Linked DNA regions of Homo sapiens: all the other regions are linked to region 4. The links are contacts of gene promoters, found by promoter capture Hi-C in human tissues and cell types (Jung and others, 2019). All regions are on one chromosome and are shown on one strand. The core of a region is centred on a gene start or on the middle of the fragment in contact, and the rest is flanking DNA. Distances in the headings are between cores, read along the strand shown. Region 1 has its middle 15 kb from the start of NUMB. Region 2 overlaps HEATR4 (HEAT repeat containing 4). Region 3 overlaps ACOT4 (acyl-CoA thioesterase 4). Region 4 holds the start of ACOT1 (acyl-CoA thioesterase 1).

The links. The method cuts DNA at HindIII sites, captures the fragments that hold promoters and counts their contacts. A contact is called where the count stands out against the background at its distance.
Region 1: a fragment that was not itself captured here is called in contact with the fragment with the promoter of ACOT1 in region 4 in 2 of the 25 tissues and cell types used here (H1 embryonic stem cells and liver).
Region 2: a fragment that was not itself captured here is called in contact with the fragment with the promoter of ACOT1 in region 4 in 2 of the 25 tissues and cell types used here (dorsolateral prefrontal cortex and mesenchymal stem cells).
Region 3: a contact is called between a fragment that was not itself captured here and the fragment with the promoter of ACOT1 in region 4, in 1 of the 25 tissues and cell types used here (dorsolateral prefrontal cortex).

The regions. Positions count from the first base shown.
Region 1 is chr14:73,469,893-73,476,502 of GRCh38, forward strand. No RefSeq gene overlaps it. Among named protein-coding and RNA genes, the nearest start is that of NUMB, 15 kb to the left of the region's middle. The HindIII fragment of the contact is 5,447 bases long and covers 2,620-6,610 here.
Region 2 is chr14:73,495,715-73,501,877 of GRCh38, forward strand. It overlaps HEATR4 (HEAT repeat containing 4), which reads right to left. Exons shown (of 18, transcript NM_001220484.1): 12 at 4,836-5,016; 13 at 3,357-3,426; 14 at 2,441-2,630; 15 at 887-965. It also overlaps a transcript of ACOT1 not described here. Among named protein-coding and RNA genes, the nearest start is that of RIOX1, 7.9 kb to the left of the region's middle. The HindIII fragment of the contact is 3,819 bases long and covers 720-4,538 here.
Region 3 is chr14:73,594,828-73,601,276 of GRCh38, forward strand. ACOT4 (acyl-CoA thioesterase 4) reads left to right here. Exons shown (of 3, transcript NM_152331.4): 3 at 222-939. The coding sequence ends at 827. It also overlaps a transcript of HEATR4 not described here. Among named protein-coding and RNA genes, the nearest start is that of ACOT4, 6.2 kb to the left of the region's middle. The HindIII fragment of the contact is 2,710 bases long and covers 2,604-5,313 here.
Region 4 is chr14:73,533,307-73,539,785 of GRCh38, forward strand. It overlaps ACOT1 (acyl-CoA thioesterase 1), which reads left to right and starts at 3,837. Exons shown (of 3, transcript NM_001037161.2): 1 at 3,837-4,572. The coding sequence starts at 4,116. All of the region lies in intron 1 of HEATR4 (HEAT repeat containing 4), which reads right to left. It also overlaps the pseudogene NT5CP2. The HindIII fragment of the contact is 14,338 bases long and covers 1-6,479 here.

The DNA.
Region 1 (6,610 bases), core at 4,093-6,592, 62 kb before region 4:
TTAAAACAAGGTACTACTTTTGGAAGGAAATATTCAGATTTGCTTATAAGAATAAGATGCAGACTTCTTTTTTCTTTTCTTCTCTTTTTTTTTTTTTTTTGAGATGGAATCTCTCTTTGTTCCCCAGGCTGGAGTGCAATGGCATGATCTCGGCTCACTGCAGTCTCCACCTCCTGGGTTCAAGCGATTTTCCTGCCTCAGCCTCCTGAGTAGCTGAGATTACAGGCAGGCACCACCACGCCCAGCTAATTTTTGTACTTTTAGCAGAAATGGGGTTTCCCCATATTGACCAGGCTGGTCTCGAACTCCTGACCTCAAGTGATCCACCCACCTCAGGCTCCCATATTGCTGGGATTATAGGCATGAGCCGCCGCGCCTAGGCAGATGCAGGCTTCTTTACATATTTCTGTCACGGCTCTTTTTGCACAATGTTTAACACAGTACTAGGAATTCGTTTATTCAGTAAACATTTATTGATTAAAAATTAGTTACATACCCAATGCCAATAGTTTGTTGCTGAGGATATAAATAATTAAATAAGGCAGTGATAAAACAGACCAGATGTGATCTCTAGCTTCTTAGTTACCTAATAAGCTCTCAAAAATATTCTTTTATCATAGTGGCTGGATACAGTGTAAAACTCTACCTAAGGGTCATCCTACCCTCTTAGGAACACAACATTTAAGTTCTTTCGAAGACCGAGCTACCCTGGGGCCAAGAACAACTATAAAAAAAGTGCCTACCTTTTCTTCTCAAATGTACCTACAAGTGAAGGTTAAAAATGAACTTCTGGCTGGGCACGTTGGCTCACGCCAGTAATCCCAGCACTTTGGGAGGCCAAGGCAGGCAGATCCTGAGGTCAGGAGTTCAAGACCGGCCTGAGCAACATGGAGGAAACCCCCGTCTCTACTAAAAATACAAAATTAGCCGGGCGTGCTGGTGCATGCCTGTAATCCTAGCTACTCAGGAGGCTGAGGCAGGAGAATCGCTTGAACCCAGGAGGCAGAGGTTGCAGTGAGCCAAGATTGCGCCATTGCACTCCAGCCTGGGCAACAAGATCGAAACTCTGTCTCAAGAAAAAAAAAAAAAGAACATCTGGAGAATGAGAACTATGCTATATTCATCTTTGAATTTCCAGTACCAGGTACAGTACCTTGCACATAGTAAGTGTTCAGTGTTTTAAATTTTTTTTTTTTTTTTTTGGAGACAGAGTCCCACTCTGTCACAGGCTGGAGTGCAGTGGCGCGATCTCAGCTCACTGCAACTTCTGCCTCCCAGGTTCAAGCAATTCTCTTGCCTCAGCCTCCCGAGTAGCTGGGGCTACAGGCATCTGCCACCACACCCGGCTAATTTTTTGTATTTTAGTAGAGATGGGGTTTCACCATGTTGCCCAGGCTGGTCTCAAACTTCTGATCTCAGGCAATCCACCTGCCTCGGCCTCCCAAAGTGCTAGGATTACAGGCGTGAGCCACCGCGCCTGGCCCAGTGTTTTTAAATTTTAATTAATTAATTAATTTTGAGACAGGGTCTGGCTCTGTCACCCACGCTGGAGTGCAGTGGCCCCATCTCGGCTCACTGTAACCTCTGCCTCCTGAGCTCAAGTGATCCTCCCACCTCAGCCTCTGAGTAGCTGGGACTGCAGGCATGTGCCATCATGCCTGGCTAATTTTTGTATTTTTTTTTTTTTTTGGTAGAGATGGAGTCTCACTATGTTGCCTAGGCTGGTCTTGATCCTCCCACCTCGGCCTCCCAAAGTGAAGTAATTGCAGGCATGAGCCACCGCACCCAGCCTGTTCAGTGTTTTTGAATGAGTGAATGAATGAATGAAGCTGGAATCCCAGTTCTGCCACTAACTGTGTATCTTTGTACAAGTCACAGATTATTTGTAACCCTTTTTTCATGACTGGGATAACAACTACCTTGCTTATTTGTTGTTATGTGACTGGAGGTCATGTGTTCTAAGAATCACTGGCAGCTGGGCATGGTGGCCTGTAATCCCAACATTTTGGGAGGCTGAGATGGGAGGATCACTTGAGCCCACAAGTTTGAGACCAGCCTGGGAAACAGAGGGAGACCTCATCTCCACAAAAAAATTAAAAACTAGCTGGGTGCGGTGAGCGCGTGCCTATAGTCCCAGCTACTGGGAAGGCTGAGGAAAGAGGATCATTTTTGAGCCCAGGAAGTCAAGCCTACAGTGAGCCATGATTGCACCACTGCACTCCAACCTGGGCGACAGAGTGAGACCCTGTCTCAAAAAAAAAAGAAAGAAAATTGGCACTCTGCCTGGCATTCAGCAGGTGCTCAACAAATGGTTGTGGTGATGCTGTATGGTTGTTACTCTGAGAACGGAGAAGCAGAAGCTTCCAAGAACCAACTTGTATGGTCAAAGTGACATCTAGTGGTAAAATTTTAGAACACACACCAAAAGCACAGTCAATTGCTGGTTTGAAATTTAAATTGAGGAATGACTAGGAACTAACAGGGCACCTGATTTACATAAGTACAGTAACATTATTTAATTCTCACCAGTGATTTTTTTTTTTTTTTGAAACGGAGTCTCACTCTATCGTCCAGGCTGGAGTACAGTGGCGCGATCTTGGCTCACTGCAACCTCCGCCTCCCAGGTTCAAGCAATTCTCCTGCCTCAGCCTCCCATGTAGCTGGGACTACAGATGCTGGCCACCACGCACGGCTAATTTTTGTATTTTTAGTAGAGATGGGGGTTTCACCATGTTGATCAGGCTGGTCTCGAACTCCCGACCTTAGGTGATCCTCCTGCCTCAGCCTCCCAAAGTTCTAGGATTACAGGCGTGAGCGACCGCACCTGGCTTCACGAGTGATTTTCAATCCTGGATGCAGATTAGAATGACGTGTGAAGCTTTAAAAATCTACTGGTGTCTGGATCTCACCCTTGGAGACACCAATTTAACTTGCAGGAGGTGTGACTCAGGCTGTCACATTTTTAAACTGCGATTTTAACATGCAGCCTGGTTGGGAACCACATGCAAGAGACCCATGAGATAGTCTTCTTCTCGTTTTACAAATGATGAAAGTAAAAGTCAGAAGGATAAAGTAATTTTCACAAAGTCACACATTTATTATTAGCAGTAGGTTATTTGAACTTGCATCTACCATTTTCCCACAATACCACGTTGCTTTGCAGAGGCTTTTGGAAGTCTGATGTGCTCCACTTAGCTTCTGTCTAGGGGAGTCTCAAACTCAGAAGCGTTAGGAAATTGCATGGTGCTGTGAGCTGAAGCCCTCCAAACAACAGTTTGGTGTTGATGGGATAGTGTGGTCTAATGAAGGCACTAACTGCCTGATCCTCTCTCTGGATTCTTTTTTTTTAAGACAAGGTCTTGCTTTGTTGCCTAGGCTGGAATGCCGTGGCATGATCACAGCTCACTACAGCCTTGAACTCCTGGGCTCAGCTGGGACCAGAGGTGCATGCCACCATGCCCAGCTATCTTTGTATTTTTTGTAGAGATGGGGTTTTGCCATGTTGCTCAGGCTGGTATTTTTATGTTTTGTAGAGACGGGGGTCTCCCTATGTTGCTATGAACATTCATGTCAATTTCAATTTTTTAAAAATTATTTCAAAAGAAACTCATTGTAATTGTTTGTGTTAAAAAATGATAACTTGCCCAGGTGCAGTGGCTCATGCCTGTAATCTCAGCACTTTGGGAGGCCAAGGCGAGTGGATCACTTGAGGTCAGGAGTTTGAGACCAGCCTGACCAACATGGCAAAACCCCGTCTACACTAAAAATACAAAAATTAGCTGGGCATGGTGGTGGGTACCTGTAATCCCAGCTACTCAGGAGGCTAAGGCAGGAGAATGGCTTGAACCTGGGAGGTGGAGGTTGCAGTGAGCCAAGACTGTGCCACTGTACTCCAGCCTGGGCGACACAAGACTCTGTCTCAAAAACAAACAAACAAAAACCTTAAGCATACACATTAAAAATCTACCAAAACTTTTTAAAATTGAGTTTTGGCACTTCATTTTTAAAAATATAACTGGGGTCTCAAAAAGGAGTAACGAGGCCGGGCGCGATGGCTCACGCCTATAATCCCAGCACCATGGGAGGCCGAGGCCGGCAGATCATGAGGTCAGGAGATTGACACCATCCTGGCTAACACGTTGAAACCCCGTCTCTACTACAAAAATACAAAAAATTAGCCGAGCTTGGTGGCGGGCCCCTGTAGTCCCAGCTACTCGGGAGGCTGAGGCAGGAGAATGGCGTGAACCCGGGAGGCGGAGTTTGCAGTGAGCCGAGATCGTGCCACTGCACTCCAGCCTGGGCAACAAAGACTCCGTCTCAAAAAAAAAAAAAAAAAAAAAAAAGAGTAACCAGCTTGCTCTTGACCTCTGAAAGGCTCTGTTGCTGCCTCCAACAAGAAAAGCCCATTTTATCCAATTAGACAACAAATCCCCAAAGTCAGAAAAACCACGTGATATTTGCTGGCATATCCATGATGACTACTAATTATGTATTTGGTAAATGTTTGCTGACAATATAGCCCATCAAGAAATGATGGGAGGCCGGGCGAGGTGGCTCACGCCTGTAATCCCAGCACTTTGGGAGGCCGAGGCGGGCGGATCACGAGGTCAGGAGATCGAGACCATCCTGGCTAACACAGTGAAACCCCGTCTCTGCTAAAAACACAAAAAAATTAGCTGAGCGCGGTGGCAGGCGCCTGTAGTCCCAGCTATTCGGGAGGCTCAGGCAGGAGAATGGCGTGAACCCGGGAGGCGGAGCTTGCAGTGAGCCGACATCGCGCCACTGCACTCCAGCCTGGGCGACAGAGCCAGACTCCGGCTCAAAAAAAAAAAAAAAAAAAAAAGATGGGAAGGCTGGGTGCGGGTGGCTCATGCCTGTAATCCCAGCACTTTGGGAGGCTGAGGCAGGTGGATCACTTGAGGCCAGGAGTTTGAGACCAGCTTGGCTAACATGGTGAAACCCTGTCTTTACTAAAAAAATATTAATATTAGCCGGGTGTGGTGGCTCACACAGGTAATCCCAGCTACTCAGGAGGCTGAGGCGCGAGAATCACTTGAAAACCAGAGGTGGAGGTTGTAGTGAGCCAAGGTCATAACACTGCACTCCAGTCTGGATGAAAGAGCGAGAAACTCTGTCCCTTAAAAAAAAAGAAAACAAAGAAATGATGGGACAGGGTGAGGGTAGGGGAGAGGAAATTCTAACACAGGTGATTTCCTTCTGACCCACAACCCCCACTTTGCTGTTGGTCTGGCTGACGTGGTTCACAAGGGGGATGGTAACTTAGATGGAACGTGTAAACCAATGGAAACATGAACCTTGATTGAAAAATGAAAAATTTCTCTAGATCCTGACTAAGGCAAGGTCAGCATGTTTCTCCCACATGCTGGTCCAAACAGAAGCTTTCTTTTACGGCAGGATAGGGATCAGTCCCTTGTCTAATCAACCAGTGGAGTTAATGAGTATGGCAGAAGGAAGGGAGAGGAAAGATGACAAAAGGAGCAATGAAAAGGAAACACCTGACACATTTATCTTTGTGAGAAGTGAGAATCACCTGTAAATGCCTCAGCCAGGAAGGACAGGTAGGGCCCTTTATAAAAGGATTTGTGGAACTTCTGGAGTATTTTGTCATTATAACATTTTGTTAATAGATTAACAAGGCTGGGCGCAGTAGCTCACACCTATAATCCTAGCACTTTGGGAGGCCAAGGCAGGCGGATTCACTTGAGGTCAGGAGTTCGAAACCAGCTTGGCCATCATGGTGAAACCCCGTCTCTACTAAAATTACAAAAAATTAGCTGGGCATGTGGTATGCGCCTGTAATCCCAGCTACTCAGGAGGCTGGGGCGGAGAATCTCTTGAACCTGAGAGGCGGAGGTTGCAGTGAGCCGAGATCATGCCACCCCGACTCCAGCCTGGACAACAGAGCGAGACTCCATCTCAAAAAAAAAAAAAAAAAAAAGATTAACAAAAACATGGCTGGGCACAGTGGCTCAAGCCTGTAATCCCAGCACTTTAGGAGGGCAGATCATTTGAGCCCAGGAGTTTGGGACTGGCCTAGGCAGCATAGCGAGACCCCATCTCTACAAAAAATATAAAAATTAGCCAGGCGTTGTGGTGCATGCCTGTGGTCCCAGCTACTGAGGAGGCTGAGGTGGGAGAGTCACTTGAGCCCAGAAGGTTGAGGTTGCAGTGAGCCAAGATCTTACCACCACACTTCAGCATGGGCAACAGAGTGAGACCCCGTCTCAAAAACAACAACAACAACAACAACAAACACAAAACACAAAGAAACAAAACCGTGATAGTAAGGAGAGCAGATGCCTGCTTTTCTGTTGTGAAGAAACTTGGGAACCACTGTGGAAACAGGAGAGGGGAAAGGAGCTGTCATGGACCCTTGCTGAGCTCCTTCCTTCCCCCAGCCTTTTCTCCCATCCCTCCCCTTACCTGGAAGGTCCTCTCTCCTCCTCTCTGCCTAAATCTTGTGCCATCTCAGATCCAACACAAATTCCCATGTCTCCATGACGACTCCTGCCCCCCTTCCCTGAACTCCTACAGCACATCTGCTGTATACCACACAATTCTCACTAAATTAAGCATATTGTCTTTGAAA
Region 2 (6,163 bases), core at 1,379-3,878, 39 kb before region 4:
TTTTGGGCATGATGAACCTGCTAAGAATTGCTTGCTTGATGTGAAGTTGGTTTCTTGAATTACCTTTTTAAAGTCCTTTCCCCTCTATTCCTTCATCTTATCTAACAGCTTTGAAAAATTAGAACAATCCAGGCCAGGCATGATGGCTCATGCCTGTAATCCCAGCACTTTGGGAGGCTGAGGCGGGTGGATCACTTGAGGCCAGGAGTTCAAGACCAGCCTGGCCAACATAGCAAAACCTTGTCTCCACTAAAAATACAAAAAAATTAGTTGGGTGTGGTGGCACATGCCTATAATCCCAGCTATTTTGGTGGCTGAGGCACGAGAATCACTTGAACCCAGGAGGTGGAGGTTGCAGTGAGCCAAGATCACACCACTGCACTCCAGCCTGGGCGACAGAGCGAGACTGTCCCCCCCTCAAAAAAAAAAGCAAAAATTATGTTAATCCTTTCAGCTAGAGATTTTCTTTGGTGAGAAAACCCAGATTAGGAATTCAGAAAAATTAAGAAGAAAATCTAGGGGGCCAGCTCTAGTCCCTTATTCCTTCTCTATGCCTATTTGAAAAAAAGGAAAAATAAACAACTTGGGTTTGGGGTTGATGGGGAGAAAATAGGAAGGGAGGGAAATAGTATTTCTGAAACAATGAGGGTTACTTGATAGGACTAATAGGATTTTTGTTTTGTTTTTGTCTTTACTAGTAGGACCTTGTAACCCAATCTTGCACAGATGCTTTGCATCTTCAAATGATGTGGCATCTGTGTCTGGGGTTTTAGAAAGTACTTCTATGGTGGGAAAAAGGGTATGTACATGTTTGAGGAGGACAGGGTCTGAGGAACTCTTGAGAGTCCTGAATTTTCTCTTGAGAACAGAGCTTGCACTTATTTACCCTGTTCTTGATCTCCTGAAGCATTTCTTGGTTTCCTTCATTTCCTAAGTTGAGTATCTTCATTGTCTGGTACATTTCTCTGAAAGATAAGAAGGGCTTCTTAGATTATTCTACCCTGCCCTTTAAAAAAGTATGGGGGTAGAAAATATAGGACTTGGAATCAGGTAAGAATCCCAAGTTCCAATCCTAACTGTGCAGTTTTGCTGAGCCTTATATGCAAAAATGGTATAATGCTTAGCTTACAGGAATAATGTGCAGTTTTTGAGACAATATATTTGTGGGTTTTTTGTTTACTTTTTGTTTTTGCGAGATGGAGTCTTGCTCTGTTTCCCAGAGCTGGAGTGCAATGGCACGATCTCGTCTCGGCTCACTGCAACCTCCACCTCCCAGGTTCAAGCGATTCTCCTGCCTCAGCCTCCTGAGTTGCTGGGACTACAGGCGCGTGCCATCATGCCCAGCTAGTTTTTGTATTTTTAGTAGAGATGGGGTTTCACCATGTTGGCCAGGCTGGTCTAGAACTCCTGACCTCAGGTGATCCACCCGCCTTGGCCTCCCAAAGTGTTGGGGCTACAGGTGTGAGCCACTGCACCCGGCCATGCCCGTCTAATTTTTGTATTTTTAGTAGAGACAGGTTTCACCATGTTGGCCAGGCTGGTCTAGAACTCCTGACCTCAGGTGATCCATCTGCCTCAGCCTCCCAAAGTGTTGGGATTACAGATGTGAGCCACCTCATCTGGCCAAGACAATATATTTGAAGGTGCCAATAGGTACCATTTACTGAACACCTTTATGACAGGCGCTAAACATGTCATCTCATTAATTATCACCACAACCCTATAATGTAGACTATCACCTGCATTTGATACATGAAAAAAATGGGCTCACAGAGTTTAAATACCTTACACGGGCTCACATAGCTATTGCATGCCAGAGCTGGAATTCAAACCCTGGTCTTTTTGACTCTAAAACTTGTTGTCCCAATAGGCATTTGATAAATGTTAGTTGAATATATGAATAACTTAAAACCCATCCTTTTTTTTTTTGAGACGGAGTTTTGCTCTTGTTGCCCAGGCTGGAGTGCAATGGCACCATCTCGGCTCACCGCAACCTCCACTTCCCAGGTTCAAGTGATTCTCCTGCCTCAGCCTCCCTAGTAGCTGGGATTACAGGCATGTGCCACCATGCCTGGCTAATTTTGTATTTTTAGTAGAGACAGGGTTTCTCCATTTTGGTCAGGCTGGTCTCAAACTCCCGACCTCAGGTGATCCTCCTGCCTCAGCCTCCCAAAGTGCTGGGATTACAGGCGTGAGTCATCACACCCGGCCAAAACCCATCCTGGTGGGGAGAAAAGATGCATGAACTACATAAGCTTGACTTTCAATCTAATTTAGGCCAGTTTTTCAGTTACCTACTTGGGTGAGTGGTGAATGTGCAGGTGAACCAGTGCTTTTACTGCCATTAGGTAGCCTGGAAAGGCAGGGACATATTCAATGAGCAAAGATGTGAGAGTTGGCAGTATAAGGTCATGGTGGGAGCCAGAGGTTTAGTGCTTACTTTAGAACAGCATCGTGGTTCTCCAGGAGCAGCACGTCTAGGAAGGTGTCCCTGACCCGGTCCCCTTGAAGTTTCAGGGCTAGGATGCTACGGCAAGCTTCCAGCCGTACACCTGGTGACTCTTCATAGTGGATAGCCCAGAGCAGAAGATCCGTCAGCTCGGGACTTACTTGCCCAATCTGTCCCAAAGCTGCAGAGATTAGAGGGCAGCATGTCACTGAAGACTGAGCTTACTATATTCTAGCATCCAGAAATAAATTGAGTTTTGCAAACAATACCTTCCCTTTTGGATGGTAATCACCATTAGAATTTTAGGGATAGGTCAGAATGGGACATTACCTCCAAAGGATTCCTAGAAGAGGGATGTTCCATCCCATCCTTGCCTGTTAGGATATTTGCCTATTTTGGGATGAAATATAGAACAAATAACATGGAAGACCTGCCTAGTCCCAGCAGGGTGATGGGGAAAGGAGGCACAATTATTTATCTATGTCAAAAAGAGAAGCAATGCCAAAGATTCTAAAAAGAAACTAGGCAGATTAAGGGGCAGGGTTTTAGGTCTGTAGCAGTCTTGAAACTGATCTGACTTTTGCAGAGCGTAATAGTTGAGATCTCCAAGGAAAGCAAGATGCATCCAGCACTGGATACCTACTTGGAACTTATCCTTAATTCTGTTGGCAGGGACTGTCTTGTCAGCCCTTTCTTTAACTTAAGTTTGACATATACCTAGACTCAGGATCTTTCACTAAAAATTGAAGAAAATTATCTTTCTCTTTTCAGACAAGGAACTTCTGAAAAGCTAAGATCATTACCTCTCCTGCACTTCACCCCATTAGAGAGTTTCAGGGGATCATTTCTACTTGCATAGGCAAAGGTATTTAAGGTTGAAGAGTTTGGGGCACTACTTCTATAATACCTCGAATGGCAAAGGCCTTGATTTTCCAGTAAGGATCTCTCTGCATCAGGTTCAGGAGGCATTCAAGCACCTGGGATGGAAAAGGCAGTGTTGAGTGGGGAGGACCAGAGCAAGAATGAACCAGAAACAGCTGGGTGCGGTGGTGCACCCCTGTAATCCCAGCATTTTGGGATGCCAAGGTGGGCGGATCACTTGACATCAGGAGTTTGAGACCAGCCTGGCCAACATGGTGAAACCCTGTCTCTACTAAAAATACAAAAATTAGCCGGGCATGGTGTCACACGCCTGTAATCCCAGCTACTCGGAGGCTGAGGTAGGAGAATTGCTTGGACCTGGGAGGCGGAGGTTGTAGTGAGCTGAGATCGTGCCACTGTACTCCAGCCTGGGTGACAGAGCGAGTCTCCATCTCAAAAAAGCAAAAAAACAAAACAAAGCAAAAGAATGAATCAGAAACAGGGAAACCACTTATCTCTAAAAGGAGCTATAATTGAAAAATGACCTATCAATTCTGGTGACAAATGAGCTGGAGCCTAAAGTACCAACCTATATGCATAGTGAGTACATTAGCTGAATTATCTGCTATTGATTTTCTCAGTCTACAGATCTGGGGCCATATGGCTTCTCTTGAACACTTCAAACAGATTTTTCCCTAATAATGGAATTATAACTCCATTTATGGGAGTTGATCCTAAAGCCCATCAGCACCCAGGTAATGAGAAGCTAGTTAACTGAGGTGAGAACAGGATTCAGGGGTGTGCTCTAGAATCGAAGTCTGGGCTGGCTGGGAGCTAAACCAAGCTTGTCCAACATGTGGCCTAGGACAACTTGGAATGCGGCCCAACACAAATTTGTAAACTTTCTTAAAACATGAGATTTATGCCAGGCGCGGTGGCTCACGCCTGTAATCCCAGCACTTTGGGAGGCCGAGGCGGGCGGATCACGAAGTCAGGACATCGAGACCATCCTGGCTAACACGGTGAAACCCCATCTTTACTAAAAACACAAAAAAATTAGCCAGGTGTGGTGGCAGGTGCCTGTAGTCCCAGCTACACAGGAGGCTGAGGCAGGAGAATGGCGTGAACCTGGGAGGCGGAGCTTGCAGTGAGCCGAGATGGCGCCACTGCACTCCAGCTTGGGTCACAGAGCGAGACTCCGTCTCAAAACAAACAAACAAACAAACAAAAAAACCATGAGAATTATGCACGGACCTTTTTTTTTTTTTTTTAGCTCATCAACTATCGTTAGTGTTAGTGTACTTTATATGTGGCCCAAGACAATTCTTCCATTGTGGCCCAGGGAAGCCAAAAGATTGGATGCCCCTGAAACAGTCCTGTTTGAAGTGGCTTATACACCCCCTTCCCAGTTCCAATCTCTCATTCTGTGTCCCCACAGAATGTTGAGCATACTGTGCACAACCAGGGAAGGTAATGCCCTCTTCAGGTCAATCAGGTAAGATGAGAATATGTTTCCCTGACTCACCATCTTGTCGCGGATCTGCAGGGCACCAGCTGCCAAACAGGCTGCCCGCCGAACTGCTGTGAAGTCATCAGAGAAGCAGTGCAGGAAGCTTGGGAGAAGCTTGGCGGTCATAAGCTTGAGCTCACCTATCAGGTAGAGAGCTTCCACACGCTCCTGGGAATTTCCTTGACCTAGCTTGACCCTGTAAGGCACAAGTTGCTTTCCTTTCACCTCCTTAAACTTTCAGTACCTAACCCCCAACCCCCACTAATGCCCTCATGATAAAATCCGGGTTCTGTAGGCTGTCAATCCCATTCAGCCTTATGCTCATGAGATAAGTTTTACTGGGTACAGAGCTCGATTGTCTTCTTTACTTGAATCCCTAATACATAGCTGTTCAGTAATTAGGTAATGCAGGGCTTTCAGTTACACTGAATGACTGAATAAAGGAAAATGTCAACTTGCACCTCTTTTCACAGTCAAGTTCTCTTCTCCATTGCCCTCACGTGTGCCATGATTATGTCTGCATTTGGCTTCCAGCCTGGAATGCCTATGCAGTCTTTTTGTTTGTTTGTTTAAATTATTTTTATTTATTTTATTATTTTTTTGAGATGGAGTCTCGCTCTGTTGCCCAGGCTGGAGTGCAGTGGCTGGATCTTGGCTTACTGCAAGCGCCGCCTCCTGGGTTCACGCCATTCTCCTGCCTCAGCCTCCTGAGTAGTTGGGACTATAGGCGCCCACCACCACGCCTGGCTAATTTTGTTTTTCTTGTATTTTTAGTAGAGATGGGGTTTCACTATGTTAGCCAGGATGGTCTTGATCTCCTGACCTCGTGATCTGCCCGCCTCGGCCTCCCAAAGTGCTGGGATTACAGGCATGAGCCACCGCGCCCGGCCTTAAATTATTTTTAGAGATGGGGTCTTGCTATGTTGCCCAGGCTGGTCTTGAACTCCTGACCTCAAGTGATTCTCCTGCCTCAGCCTGAGTAGCTGGGATTATAGGCACTTACCCACTCTGCGGCTCCTATGCAGTCTCTCTCTCTTTTTTTTTTTTTTTTTTTTTTGAGATAGGGTCTTTCTCTGTTGCCCAGGCTGGAATGCAGTGGCATGATGATGGCTCATGACAGCTTTGGACTTCCTGGACCCAGGCAGTCCTCTTGCCTCAGCCTCCCAAGTAGCTGGGACTACAGGCATACACCACCACACTGGCTAACTTTTTATTTTATTTTATTATTATTATTTTTGAGACGGAGTCTCACTCTGTCGCCCAGGCTGGAGTACAGTGGCGTGATCTCCGCTCACTGCAAGCTCCAACTCCCAGGTTCACGCCATTCTCCTGCCTCAGCCTCC
Region 3 (6,449 bases), core at 2,709-5,208, 62 kb after region 4:
GTAACTGGGATTAGAGGCGTGCGCCACCACACTCGGCTAATTTTTTTTTGTATTTTTAATAGAGACAGGGTTCTGCCATGTTGGCCAGGCTGGTCTCAAACTCCTGACCTCAAGTGATCCGCCCGCCTCCGCCTCGCAGAGTGTTGGGATTACAGGCATGAGCCACCGCACCCAATCTGGATAAGTTATTGACTCAACTCTCCTCTCTTCTTTTCTTCCAGGTAAAAGGCCCAGGCATTGGGCTTTTGGGCATTTCTCTAGGAGCTGATATTTGTCTCTCAATGGCCTCATTCTTGAAGAATGTCTCAGCCACAGTTTCCATCAATGGATCTGGGATCAGTGGGAACACAGCCATCAACTATAAGCACAGTAGCATTCCACCATTGGGCTATGACCTGAGGAGAATCAAGGTAGCTTTCTCAGGCCTCGTGGACATTGTGGATATAAGGAATGCTCTCGTAGGAGGGTACAAGAACCCCAGCATGATTCCAATAGAGAAGGCCCAGGGGCCCATCCTGCTCATTGTTGGTCAGGATGACCATAACTGGAGAAGTGAGTTGTATGCCCAAACAGTCTCTGAACGGTTACAGGCCCATGGAAAGGAAAAACCCCAGATCATCTGTTACCCTGGGACTGGGCATTACATCGAGCCTCCTTACTTCCCCCTGTGCCCAGCTTCCCTTCACAGATTACTGAACAAACATGTTATATGGGGTGGGGAGCCCAGGGCTCATTCTAAGGCCCAGGAAGATGCCTGGAAGCAAATTCTAGCCTTCTTCTGCAAACACCTGGGAGGTACCCAGAAAACAGCTGTCCCTAAATTGTAATGCATTTGTCTGTTGTTGACATGAGAGATTCAAGATCAGATTCTAGTGTTCAGTAACCCTATGTGAATCAGATGTCTCCTGGATAACATTAAAGCCATGTCTTTGTCATTAATGGTGTATTTTACGTAACTTTGTTGAATAAGCTTTGTCGTTAGTTTTACTAATGTAACTTGCTTGTTGTAGAAGATTAAGAGGCATATGACACATATAAGTGAAAAACATTCCCACCAGTTAACATTTGTGTTTCCTTCTAGATTTTTTTAGTTAATGTTTTGAGTCACAGGTGAGCTTTAAAGCTGGTGACTTTTTCCATCACTATGAAAGAATGGTCACTTAATGTTTGCTGTTCAACCATCAGTAGCAGGGTAGAATTTTCTTTGGCCAGAAACATACAGAGGGGTGTTAATATGAGGAAAGGCAGCTGACCTTTTCATTATAAACGTGAGAGAAGACTCTTTTGACAGGAGGAGATGAGACCTGTCTCTAGAATAGTTAAGTCTGTACTCTCTTCCAAGGGTGAATTACTACGATCTATTTTCCCTCTCACTTCCTCTCTAAGAGCAGACCCTGGGGCCGAGTACAGTGGCTCACACCTGTAATCCCAGTACTTTGGGAAGTCAAGGGGGGCATATTGCTTGAGCTCAGGATTTCATGACCAGCTTAGGCAACATGGCAAAACCCAATCCCTACAAAAATTAGCCAAACATGGTACACACCTGTAGTCCCAGCTACTCGAGACTCAGATGGGACGATTGCTTGAGCCCGGGAGGTCAAGATTGGTGCAGTGAGCCGTGATTGCACCACTGCACTCCAGCCCAGGTAACACAGCGAGACCCCGTTTCAAAAGAAAAAAAAAGAATAGAACTTGGAAAATCGTACTGTGGTAACCCTAGAGGAATCACTCCTTTGTCTCCTTGACATTGACACTACATAGCATTTATTATTATTATTATTATTATTTTTTGAGACAGAGTCACTCTGTTGCCCAGGCTGGAGTGCAGTGGCATGATCTCAGCTCACTGCAACCTCTGCCTCCTGGGTTCAAGCGATTCTCCTGCCTCAGCCTCCCGAGTAGCTGGGATTACAGGCATGTGCCACCATGCCCGGCTAATTTTTGTATTTTTAGTAGAGACAGGGTTTCACTATGTTGGCCAGGCTGGTCTTGAACTCCTGATGTCAAGTGATCCACCTGCCTCGGTCTCCCAAATTGCTGGGATTACAGGCATGAGCCACCGCGCCCAGCTTACATAGCATTTATTAATATAAGCGTATTTGAAAAGATAATGGCTGAGAAATTTCCAAAACTGATGTCAAAGACATCAAGCCACATATTCAAGAAGAATTGTAAATGCCAGGCAGAATAAATACAAAGAAAAACTACGCTTATCACAGTAAAACTGTTTATGGTAATTTTATTTTATTTATTTATTTATTTATTTATTTTTTTGAGATAGAGTCTGGCTCTGTCACCCAGGCTGGAGTGCAATGGCGCAATCTCAGCTCACTGCAAGCTCCGCCTCCCAGGTTCATGCCATTCTCCCTGCCTCAGCCTCCCAAGTAGCTGGGACTACAGGTGCCCGCCACCACGCCTGGCTAATTTTTTGTATTTTTAGTAGAGACAGGGTTTCGCCATGTTAGCCAGGATGGTCTCGATCTCCTGACCTCGTGATCCACCCGCCTCGGCCTCCCAAAGTGCTGGGATTACAGGCGTGAGCCACCATGCCCGGCCATTATTTATTTATTTATTTGAGACAGAGTCTTGCTGTGTTGGCCAGGCTGGGGTGCAGTGGCACGATCTCAGCTCACTGCAACCTCTGTCTCCCGGGTTCAAGTGATCCTCCTGCCTCAGCCTCCCAAGTAGCTCAGACTATAGGCATGTGCCAGCACGCCCAGCTAATTTTTGTATTTCTTTTTCTTTTTTTTTCTTTTTTCTTTTCTTTTTTTTTTTTTTTTTTTTGAGAAGGAGTCTTGCTCTGTAGCCCAGGCTGGAGTGCAATAGCACAATCTCGGCTCACCACAACCTCTGCCTCCCAGGTTCAAGCAATTCTTCTGCCTCAGCCTCTCGAGTAGCTGGGACTACAGGTACCTGCCACCATGCCTGGCTAATTTTTGTATTTTTAGTAGAGACAGGGTTTTACCATATTGGCCAGGCTGGTCTCAAATCCCTGACCTTGTGATCCATCTGCCTCGGCTTCCCAAAGTGCTGGGATTACAGGCATTAGCCACCGCGCCTGGCCTTTTATTTCTTTTGTAGAGATGGGGTTTCGCCATATTGGCCAGGCTGGTCTTTAACTCCTGACCTCAAGTGATCCACCTGCCTCAGCCTCCCAAAGTACTGGGATTACAGGTGTGAGCCACTGCACCAGGCTTGTTTATGGTAATTTTAAAACATAGCTGTAAATTCATTGGCATTTCCCTCATCAAAAGATGGGAGACCTGCCGGGTGCAGTGGCTCATGCCTGTAATCCCAGCACTTTGGGAGGCCGAGGTGGGCGGATCATGAGGTCAGGAGATCAAGACCATCCTGGTTAACATGGTGAAACCCCGTCTCTACTAAAAATACAAAAAAAAAAAAAAAAAAAAAACATAGCCGGGTGTGGTGGCAGGCGCCTGTAGTCCCAGCTACTTGGGAGGCCGAGGCAGGAGAATGGTGTGAACCCGGGAGGCAGAACTTGCAGTGAGCCGAGATCATGCCACTGCACTCCAGCCTGGGCGACAGAGCAAGACTCCGTCTCAAAAAAAAAAAAAAAAGAGAGAGATGGGAGACCTATGTCCCCTTCCTTCAAATCTGGATGAACTTGTGACTGTTTCAGTCACTAGAGTAGAGCGGCAGTGACTTTGCAGGCGAGGTCATAGAACGCCGTGAGGATTCTACCGTGTTTGCCAGGAACACCTGCCTTTGGAGCTTGAGCCACTATGTAAGAAGTTTGGGACAGGCGCTGTGGCTCATGCCTGTAATCCCAGCACTTTGAGAGGCTGAGGCAGGCAGATCACCTGAGGTCTAGAGTTTGAGACCAGCCTGATCAACATGGTGAAACCCCATCTCTACTAAAAATACAAAAATTAGGCCAGGCATTGTGGCTTACACCTGTAATCCCAGCACTTCGAGAGGCCAAAGCAGGCGGATCACCTGAGGTCGGGAGTTCGAGACCAGCCTAACCAACATGGTGAAACCCCATCTCTACTAAAAATACAAAAAAGTAGCCAGGTGTGGTGTTGGGTGCCTGTAATCTCAGCTACTCAGGAGGCTGAGGCAGGAGAATCTCCCAAACCTGAGAGGCAGAGGTTGCAATGAGTCAAGATCACACCACTGCACTCCAGCCTGGGCAACACAGCGAGACTGTCTCAAAAAAAAAACAAAAAGAAGTTTGACTACCTTGAGGATGTGATGCTGTGATGCTGTGATGAAGCTTAAAATACATGTATAAGCCAACCACAGGCACTCCTGTGACAGTCCCAACTGTGGTCAGCGTCTCAGTTATCTCAGCCCAAGTGCCAGACATGTGAGTGAAAAACACCTCCAGATCATCCTAGCCCCCAGCCATTTAAATCTCGGTGGAGACTTCACATAACCTCCACTGAGCAGTGATGTCCCTCTCAAGCCCTGTCCAAACTGCAGATTTGTGAGCAAAATAGATTGTTTTTGTTTTATGTGACTATGTTTTCAGGTGTGTTTCAGTTATCTATTGTTGTGTAGCAAACCACCCTAAAACAGCAGCTTAAAACACTAACCATGTATTTTTCTCAAGAGTCTGCAAATGGGACAGGACTGGGTAGGAATGGATCACCACTGTTCGAAGTGACACGGGCTGCGGTAATTTGACTGAGGGGTTGAAACTCAGCCCAAGTAATTAGCAAGAAGGCCCAGATGGAGAGAAATTGAGAACCCCCTAAATCATATCCCTTCCTGAGTTCCCAATTGACAGCCAGCACCAACCTCCCTGCCATAAAAGTAGAGTCTCCAAGAGAGCCTAGCAAGCCTAGCAAGCAATTCTGCATGACCTTTGTTCAGCTTTGTCTTGGAAGCTATTATACATACTATCACTCTCCCATGCTCTATTGAACAAGGCAGTCAAAGGCTAACCAAAGTTCAAGGAGAGCATAGTCTGCCTCTTGAAAGGAGAGTGGCAAGGTTCTGGAGAAGAGCATGTGGAATGGGAAATAATTGTAACCATCTTTGGCAAATACAGTCTGCCTTCTGGCCATACATTCCTCCACATGTAAAATAACACCCATTCCTCTTCTATACCCTCTCCCCCAAAAATCTCATTTCATTATAGCATCGCACTCAGGCTGAAGGTCCAATATTTCATCATCTATATCAGATCCAGGTATAGATGAGGCTCAGAACAGTCCCTTGGGTATAGCTCCTTGAATATCCTTCTTCTCAATCTGAACGGCTTTGAAACAAACAAGTTAGCTATCCTCACAGATGCATGTCCATAATACAATGGTGGGAGAAGTATAAGATAACTCCTATAGACAGTCCTGTTCAAAAATGGGGAAAATGTGGCACACAGCTGTCACTAGCCTGTAGCAACTCTGAAACACACCGGAGAACACGCTGCCAATTCCTTCATTAGTGTTCAATTTACTCTCTGTGAGTTGTTCTCTGTAGCTTTTGGTTCTACCTCCTGAGTTGAAACCTTTATTTTCCATAAGAAAATGAGTTAGCAATTAAATTTAACCTGCCTCCTAGATGGAAAAGGGGAGTTCAAAGTTCTCTTTTAATTTTGTATTCTCTGCCTTTTAAGTTCCAGCTCATAGTGGAACTGGAATTATTCTTCAGCCAGAACAATTTTCTTTTTTTTTCCAAGACGGAGTTTTGCTCTTGTTTCCCAGGCTGGAGTGCAATGGCGTGATCTCAGCTCACTACAACTTCTGCCTCTTGGGTTCAAGCAATTCTCCTGCCTCAGCCTCCCAAGTAGCTGGGATTACAGGCACCCACCACCACACCCGGCTAATTTGTTATGTTTAGTAGAGACAGGGTTTCACCATGTCGGCCAATCTGGTCTCAAACTCCTGACCTCAGGTGATCCACCTGCCTAGGCCTCCTAAAATGCTGGGATTACAGGCATGAGCCACCACGCCCAGCCAGCCAGAACAATTTTCTTAAAAACTTTGTGGGGTTTTCTAAAAATCTCAGTGGGTTTCACTCCACTAGACAAAATACACCTCTAGATATCTGTTTAAGAACTTCTCGGCCAGGCGTGCTGGCTCACGCCTGTAGTCCCAGCACTTTGAGAGGCCAAGGCGGGCGGATCACCTGAGAGGTCAGGAGTTCGAGACCAGCCCGGCCAACATGGCGAAACCCCATCTCTACTAAAAATACAAAAATTAGCCAGGTGTGGTGGTGCGTGCCTGTAATCCCAGCTACTCAGGAGGCTGAGGCAGGAGAATTGCTTGAACCCAGGAGATGGAAATTGCAGTAAGCCGAGATTGTACCACTGCACTCCAGCCTGGATGACAGAGTGAGACTCTGTCTCCAAAAAAAAGAAAATGACAATTAAATGAAATATTTTTGTAAGTGTTTAAATGACCCATCAGGTAAATGTACCTGAAGCTTTGACTGTCTTCCCAAAAATATGGATTTGACAAACCAAACATTGGTTATAAACTACT
Region 4 (6,479 bases), core at 2,587-5,086:
CCCAAATGTCCATCAGTGAATGAATGGATAAACAAAATGTGGAAGATACATACAACAGAATGTTATTCAGCCTTAAAAAGGAATGAAATGGGCCAGGCGTGGTGGCTCAGGCCTGTAATCCCAGCACTTTGGGAGGCCGAGGAGGGTAGATCACCTGAGGTCAGAAGTTCAAGACCAGCCTGGTCAACATGGTGGAACCCCATCTCTACTAAAAATACAAAAATTAGCTGGGTGTCCTGGTACGCGCCTGTAGTCCCAGCTACCTGGGAGGCTGAGGCAGGAGAATCACTTGATCCCAGGAGACGGAGGTTTCAGTGAGCTGAGACCGCGCCACTGCACTCCAGCCTGGGGGGACAGAGCAAGACTCCAAAAGTTCTGGAAATGGATAATGGTGATAGTTGTACAACAATGTAATGTACTTAATGTCACTGACTTGTACACTTAAAAATGGTTAAAATGGGCTTGTTCCAGCAGCTCATGCGTGTAATTCTAGCGCTTTGAGAGGCCAAGGCAGGATGATCACTTGAGGCCAGAGTTCGAGACCAGTCTGGGCAACATAGCAAGACCCTGTCTCTAAAAAAAAAAAAAAAAAAAAAAGGTTAAAATGAGGCCATGCATGCCTACAATCCCAGCACTTTGGGAAGATGAGGTGGTAGGGTCACTTGTTTGGGAAGAGGAGGTGGGAGGATCCTTTGAACCCAGGAGTTCAAGGCTGCAATGAACCATCATGGTGCCATTGCACTCCAGCCTGGGTGACAGAGCAAGACCTAGTCTCTAAAAAATAAGAGTTAAGGCCAGACACGGTGGCTCATGCCTCTAGTCCCAGCACTTTGGGAGGCTGAAGCAGGCAGATTACAAGGTCAGGAGTTTGAGACCAGCCTGGCCAACATGGTGAAACCTCGTCTTTACTAAAAATACAAAAATCAGCTGGCCGTGGTGGCATGTGACTGTAATCCCAGCTACTCAAGAGGCTGAGGCAGGTGAATCACTGGAACCCGGGAGCCAGAAGTTGCAGTGAGCCGAGATCAGACCACTGCACTCCAGCCTGGGCGACAGAGCAAGACTCTGTCTTGAAAAAAAAAAAAGAATTAAAAAAAGAAACATGGCCGAGTGTAGTGGCTCTTGCCTATAATCCCAACACTCAGGGAGGCCAAGGTGGGAGGATTGCTTAAGCCCAGGAGTTCGAGACCAGGCAACATAGGGAGACCCCATCTGTACAAATAATCTAAAAAGTTAGCCAGGTGTGGTGGTGCATGCCTGTGGTCCCAGGTGCTCGGGAGGCTGAGGTGGGAGAACTGTCTAAGCCTGGGAGGTTGAGGCTGCAGTGAGCTATGATCGCACCACTGCACTCCAGCCTGGGTAACACAGTGAGACACCCCGTCTTAAAAAACAAACAAGCAAATAAACAAATACTATGCATAAAACCTCAAGGCTCAAGAAACAACAGTTTGAAATAGTTAGATGTGTGTTTTTTTTAATTTTCATGTCTTATCTTTTCTGCTTTTTTTTTTTTTTTTAAGGGATGAGGTCTTGCTCTGTTGCCCAAGCTGGTATCGAATTCCTCCTGGGCTCAAGCAATCTCCTGCCTAGGCCTCCCCCCTAACAGCTGGAACTACAGGCATCTACCACTGCATTCAGCTACTGGGGGAGTGTTTGACTAGTCTTTTTAAAAAATATGTTAATATCTTGGTAAAAAGTATATTTATACTGTTCTCTAACCTGCTTTTTTTCATCAGTTTCATGGAAGAATGCTCATCATATATTCTTCTGCTTTATAACTAAACTGCTTTCATTTATGACATCACAATTAAACTGGTAAAACCAAATTTATATTGCTAACTTGTTTCTAATTTTTTCTCTATTAAAATGATATGATTAGCATCCTTGTAGCCAAATATTTACACATATTTATGAAGTTATACTTAAAACAAATTCCTAGACGTGGAACTGTGAGTCAAAGAGAAGGGATCTTTTAAATATTTTTGCATAGATTGCCATGAAAAGGTCATACCAGTTTATATATCCACCAATATGAGTTTCTTTTCCAAATCTTCTTCAACATCCTGTGAGAGACAGTTAAACATAGTTGTTCAGAGCCCAGCCTTGAGAATCAGATTTCAAACATATGAACCCTCTCCCTTTTTCTTTTCTTTTTCTTCTTTCTTTTTTTTTTTTTTTTTTTTTTTTTTTTTTTTTTTTTTGCCCAGGCTGGAGTGCAGTGGCGCCATCTTGGCTCACTGCAAGCACTGCCTCCAGGGTTCACGCCATTCTCCTGCCCCAGCCTCCCGAGTAGCTGGGACTACAGGCGCCTGCCACCACGCCCGGCGAATTTTTTGTATTTTTGGTTTTTTTTTAGTAGAGACGGAGTTTCACTGTGTTAGCCAGGATGGTGTCGATCTGCTGACCTCGTGATCCACCCGCCTCGGCCTCCCAAAGTGCTGGGATTACAGGCGCGAGCCACCGCGCCTGGCCCCTTTTTCTTGTTAGAGACAGGGTCTTATCCAGGTTGGTCTGAAACTCCTGGCCTTAAGAAACCCTGCCACCTCAGCCTCCAAGTAAACTGGGATTATAGGCGTGAGCCACCTCACCCAACTTCCACTTCCCAGCTGTATGATCTTCAGAAAATCAGTTAAATTCTCTGGGCCTTAATTTACTACTACGGTTCTTGTAAGTATTAACAATTAGCTACTATTATTTACCTTCTTTAGTTCCTGAGACTTCTATGCACAGAATATACTTGATGTGTGCCACAGAACCTATACAAAGGTAATTACAACTAACAGGGAGTTGTATGATAATGACATGGGACATGGGACATGAGAGCATTTGGAAAGAGATAAAAAGGCTTACCTTGAGGACAGCCTTATTAGGAGCAGAGGCAAACACAGGTTTTGTGAGTTTGAAGCTTACGCATTTATAGGTTTCTCTAATTACCAAGATAGGAAATTATGAAATCAGGTACAAGGGCTTGGGAGGGGCCTAAAGCTTAAGTTTGATGAAAAAAAAAAACCACCTCTGGTTGGAACCAATAGCCTATGAAAAAGTAGAAAAAAGCCCAATGCATGGGGAGCGCCGGTAGTCCCTTGAGGTGTTTGAGAGGCTGAGGCAGGAAGATGGCTTTAGCCCAGGAGTTTGAGGCTTGTAAGTGCGCAGTGATGGTAAACCGCCGCTGTACTCCAGACTGGCAACGTAGTGAGACCCTGTCTCTTTAAAAAAAAAAAAAAAAAAAAAAAAAGATGAGAGGTAACACTTGCCTGACTGGGACAAAAATGAGAAACCAGTATAAGAAAATAATAACTATTGGCCGGGCGCGGTGGCTCATCGCCTGTAAATCCCAGCACTTTGGGAGGCCGAGGCGGGCGGATCACAAAGTCAGGAGTTCGAGAAATTAATAACTATTACCTCATTTGGCTATTTTTACACCTGTAAGGAATAAAGCTCAGAGGTCACACAGCTAGTAAGAAGCCAGCACCCTTCGATGTGGGAGTGATGTGGAGGATAGGCATATACAGAGAACACGAAAGCAAAACACCATGGTGCAGATTTTGAAAGAAAAGCCCTAAGATTAGTAATGAGTGTGAATTATTCAACAAAGTGATCAAAACCAACTCCAGTCCTGCATTCCTCTTCGCCATCAGGAGTTTGGAGCCTGGAGACTGCTAGCTGCCTGGTTGTTGTTGTTTTTTTTTTTTTCTGAGACGGACTTTCGCTCTGTCGCCCAGGCTGTAGTGCAGTGGCATGATCTTGGCCAACTGCAAGCTCCACCCCCCGGGATCACGCCATTCTCCTGCCTCAGCCTCCCGAGTAGCCGGGACGAACCAGTCCTGGCCCAGCCCATTCCGCGAGCCAGCAAGCTTCTGAAAAGCAAACCTAGGAAGTTGCTTTCCAACATAAAGTGGAGGTTTCAACACAGGAGACTTTAAGCAAGTTCCAGTGTGTCTATATTTGGTCTGGCTGATCGGCTGGACTCTGGCCTTCCCCGCTCACATTAGCAGACAGCTCTGCCCTAGTGGGCGTTTAGCCTGCGACGGCAGCCCGAGAGGAAGAGTTGGGCAGAGTTGCAGGGGTCTCCACAGCTGAGGCAGTTTGGCCGGATTATTTGGGTTCCTGCTCGGATGGCGGCGACGCTGATCCTGGAGCCCGCGGGCCGCTGCTGCTGGGACGAACCGGTGCGAATCGCCGTGCGCGGCCTAGCCCCGGAGCAGCCGGTCACGCTGCGCGCGTCCCTGCGCGACGAGAAGGGCGCGCTTTTCCAGGCCCACGCGCGCTACCGCGCCGACACCCTTGGCGAGCTGGACCTGGAGCGCGCGCCCGCGCTGGGCGGCAGCTTCGCGGGGCTTGAGCCCATGGGGCTGCTCTGGGCCTTGGAGCCCGAGAAACCCTTGGTGCGGCTGGTGAAGCGCGACGTGCGAACGCCCTTGGCCGTGGAGCTGGAGGTGCTGGATGGCCACGACCCCGACCCCGGGCGGCTGCTGTGCCGGGTGCGGCACGAGCGCTACTTCCTCCCGCCCGGGGTGCGGCGCGAGCCGGTGCGCGCGGGCCGGGTGCGAGGCACGCTCTTCCTGCCGCCAGGTGACTCACCTCCGCTAATTGTTCCCCTCTGCCCATCCCTGTTCCTGCGCTTTCCACTGTGTGTGTGTGTGTGTCCCCTTCGCCCCGCCCCGCTCTTTTCGCTTGTGTGTGTGTCCCTCCTCCCGCCCCACCACCACCACCCCGGGCTATGTTGCCCAGGTAGGTCTTGAACTCCTGGACCCAAGCTATCCTCCCGCCTCTGCCTCCCCAAGAGCTAGGATTGCAGGGTGAGCCACTGCGCCCGGCCCTTTGAGGGGAGTTACACTTATTTTTTTATTTTTATTTTTTTTCGTCCCTGCGCTTTTCATACGGAGAAAGGATGTAGCTTCCAACATTCCGGAGGTTAGTGTAAGGAGACAGGAATGGAATGGAAAGTTGGTTGGGGAATTGCCCCTGCCGCTCCAAAACTGAGAGGTCCCTCAAACCTAGTGCTCAGTTAAAAGACATTGTAAGGGCTGGGCGCGCTGGCTCACGCCTGTAATCCCAGCACTTTGAGAAGCCGAGGCGGGCGGATCACGACGTCAGGAGATCAAGGCCATCCTGGCTAACACGGTGAAAACTCGTCTCTACTAAAAATACAAAAAATTAGCCGGGCGTGGTAGCGGGCGCCTGTCGTCCCAGCTACTCGGGACGCTGAGGCAGAAGAATGGCATGAACCCAGGAGGCGGAGTTTGCAGTGAGCCAAGATCGTGCCACGCACTCCAGCCTGGGCAATAGAGTGAGACTCCGTCTCAAAAAAAAAAAAAAAAAAAGGCATTGTAAGGAAAGAGAAAAGACACATAATATTAAAAACAAACAAAACAAAACAAAAAAAACAGGCCGGACGCGGTGGCTAACACCTGTAATCCTAGCACTTTGGGAGGCCGAGGCAGGCGGATCAAGAGTTCGAGACCAGCCTGGCCAACATGGTGAAACCCCGTCTCTACTAAAAATACAAAAATTAGCCAGGTGAGGTGGTGCACACCTGTAGTCCCACCTACTCGGGAGTCTGAGGCAGGAGAATCGCTGGAACCCTGGAGGCAGAGGTTGCAGTGAGCCGAGATCACGCCATTGTACTCCAGCCTGGGGGACAAGAGTGAAACTCCATCTAAAACAAAAACAAAAACAAAAAACAAACAACAACAACAAAAAATTTTCAAGTAGTTTCAATGTTCTTATTTATGTATGGACCAGGAAGTCACTTTTTTTTTTAATAAAAAGAATTCCAACTGGTTTTCTCACTGTATTTCCATGGCAGCTAGGAGGTGCCAGGTGGCTGGGCCTGTGACAGTGCAGAGGTTTTGGTGCCTGCCCGCCCACCATTGCTCCAGCTGCAGCTGCTGCCCCCTGCAGGGCCTGTTCGTTCCTGCTGCCTAGCTCCCTGCTGGCTGGCTATGATCTCCGTCCTGTTACCATTCCAGGAGAGCAGCCACCTCCCTGTGCATGGCAGGACCAGGTACTGATTGTGGCCTCTCCTCTTGGCCTCGAATGGTATCCTTGTCATCAGTGAGCAAGTCCCCAAAGACCACGGTCTTGTCCATTGTCAGGATAATTCACTCCACAAGCTGGGACTCCAGGTGCTGCTCTACCCAGCGGTGCTTCTCACCCACACAGTGGTCATACTTTGGCAGGGGCTGGTGCAGTGTGAAGACCTCGGTGTTTTGCATGTGCTTCATCTCTTGCAAGGCCCTCTGGGGTTGGGCTTCAAGACTAGGGAAAAGCCTAGGGCTTCACACCCATGGGCCACTTTATCCACCAGGTCCGGCAGCAGGGTGAGGTACTGCTTCCAGACCAGGAAGCTGCGGTGCTGCTGCAGTGTCACATGCAGCTCCCTGAGAAGCGGCGGCTGAAGCCCCACAGGATGCCGTCTGGAAGCTGCCAGCACGCGGTCCCTGTCCATCAGCACACGCGTGGGCTGTGCTCATCGC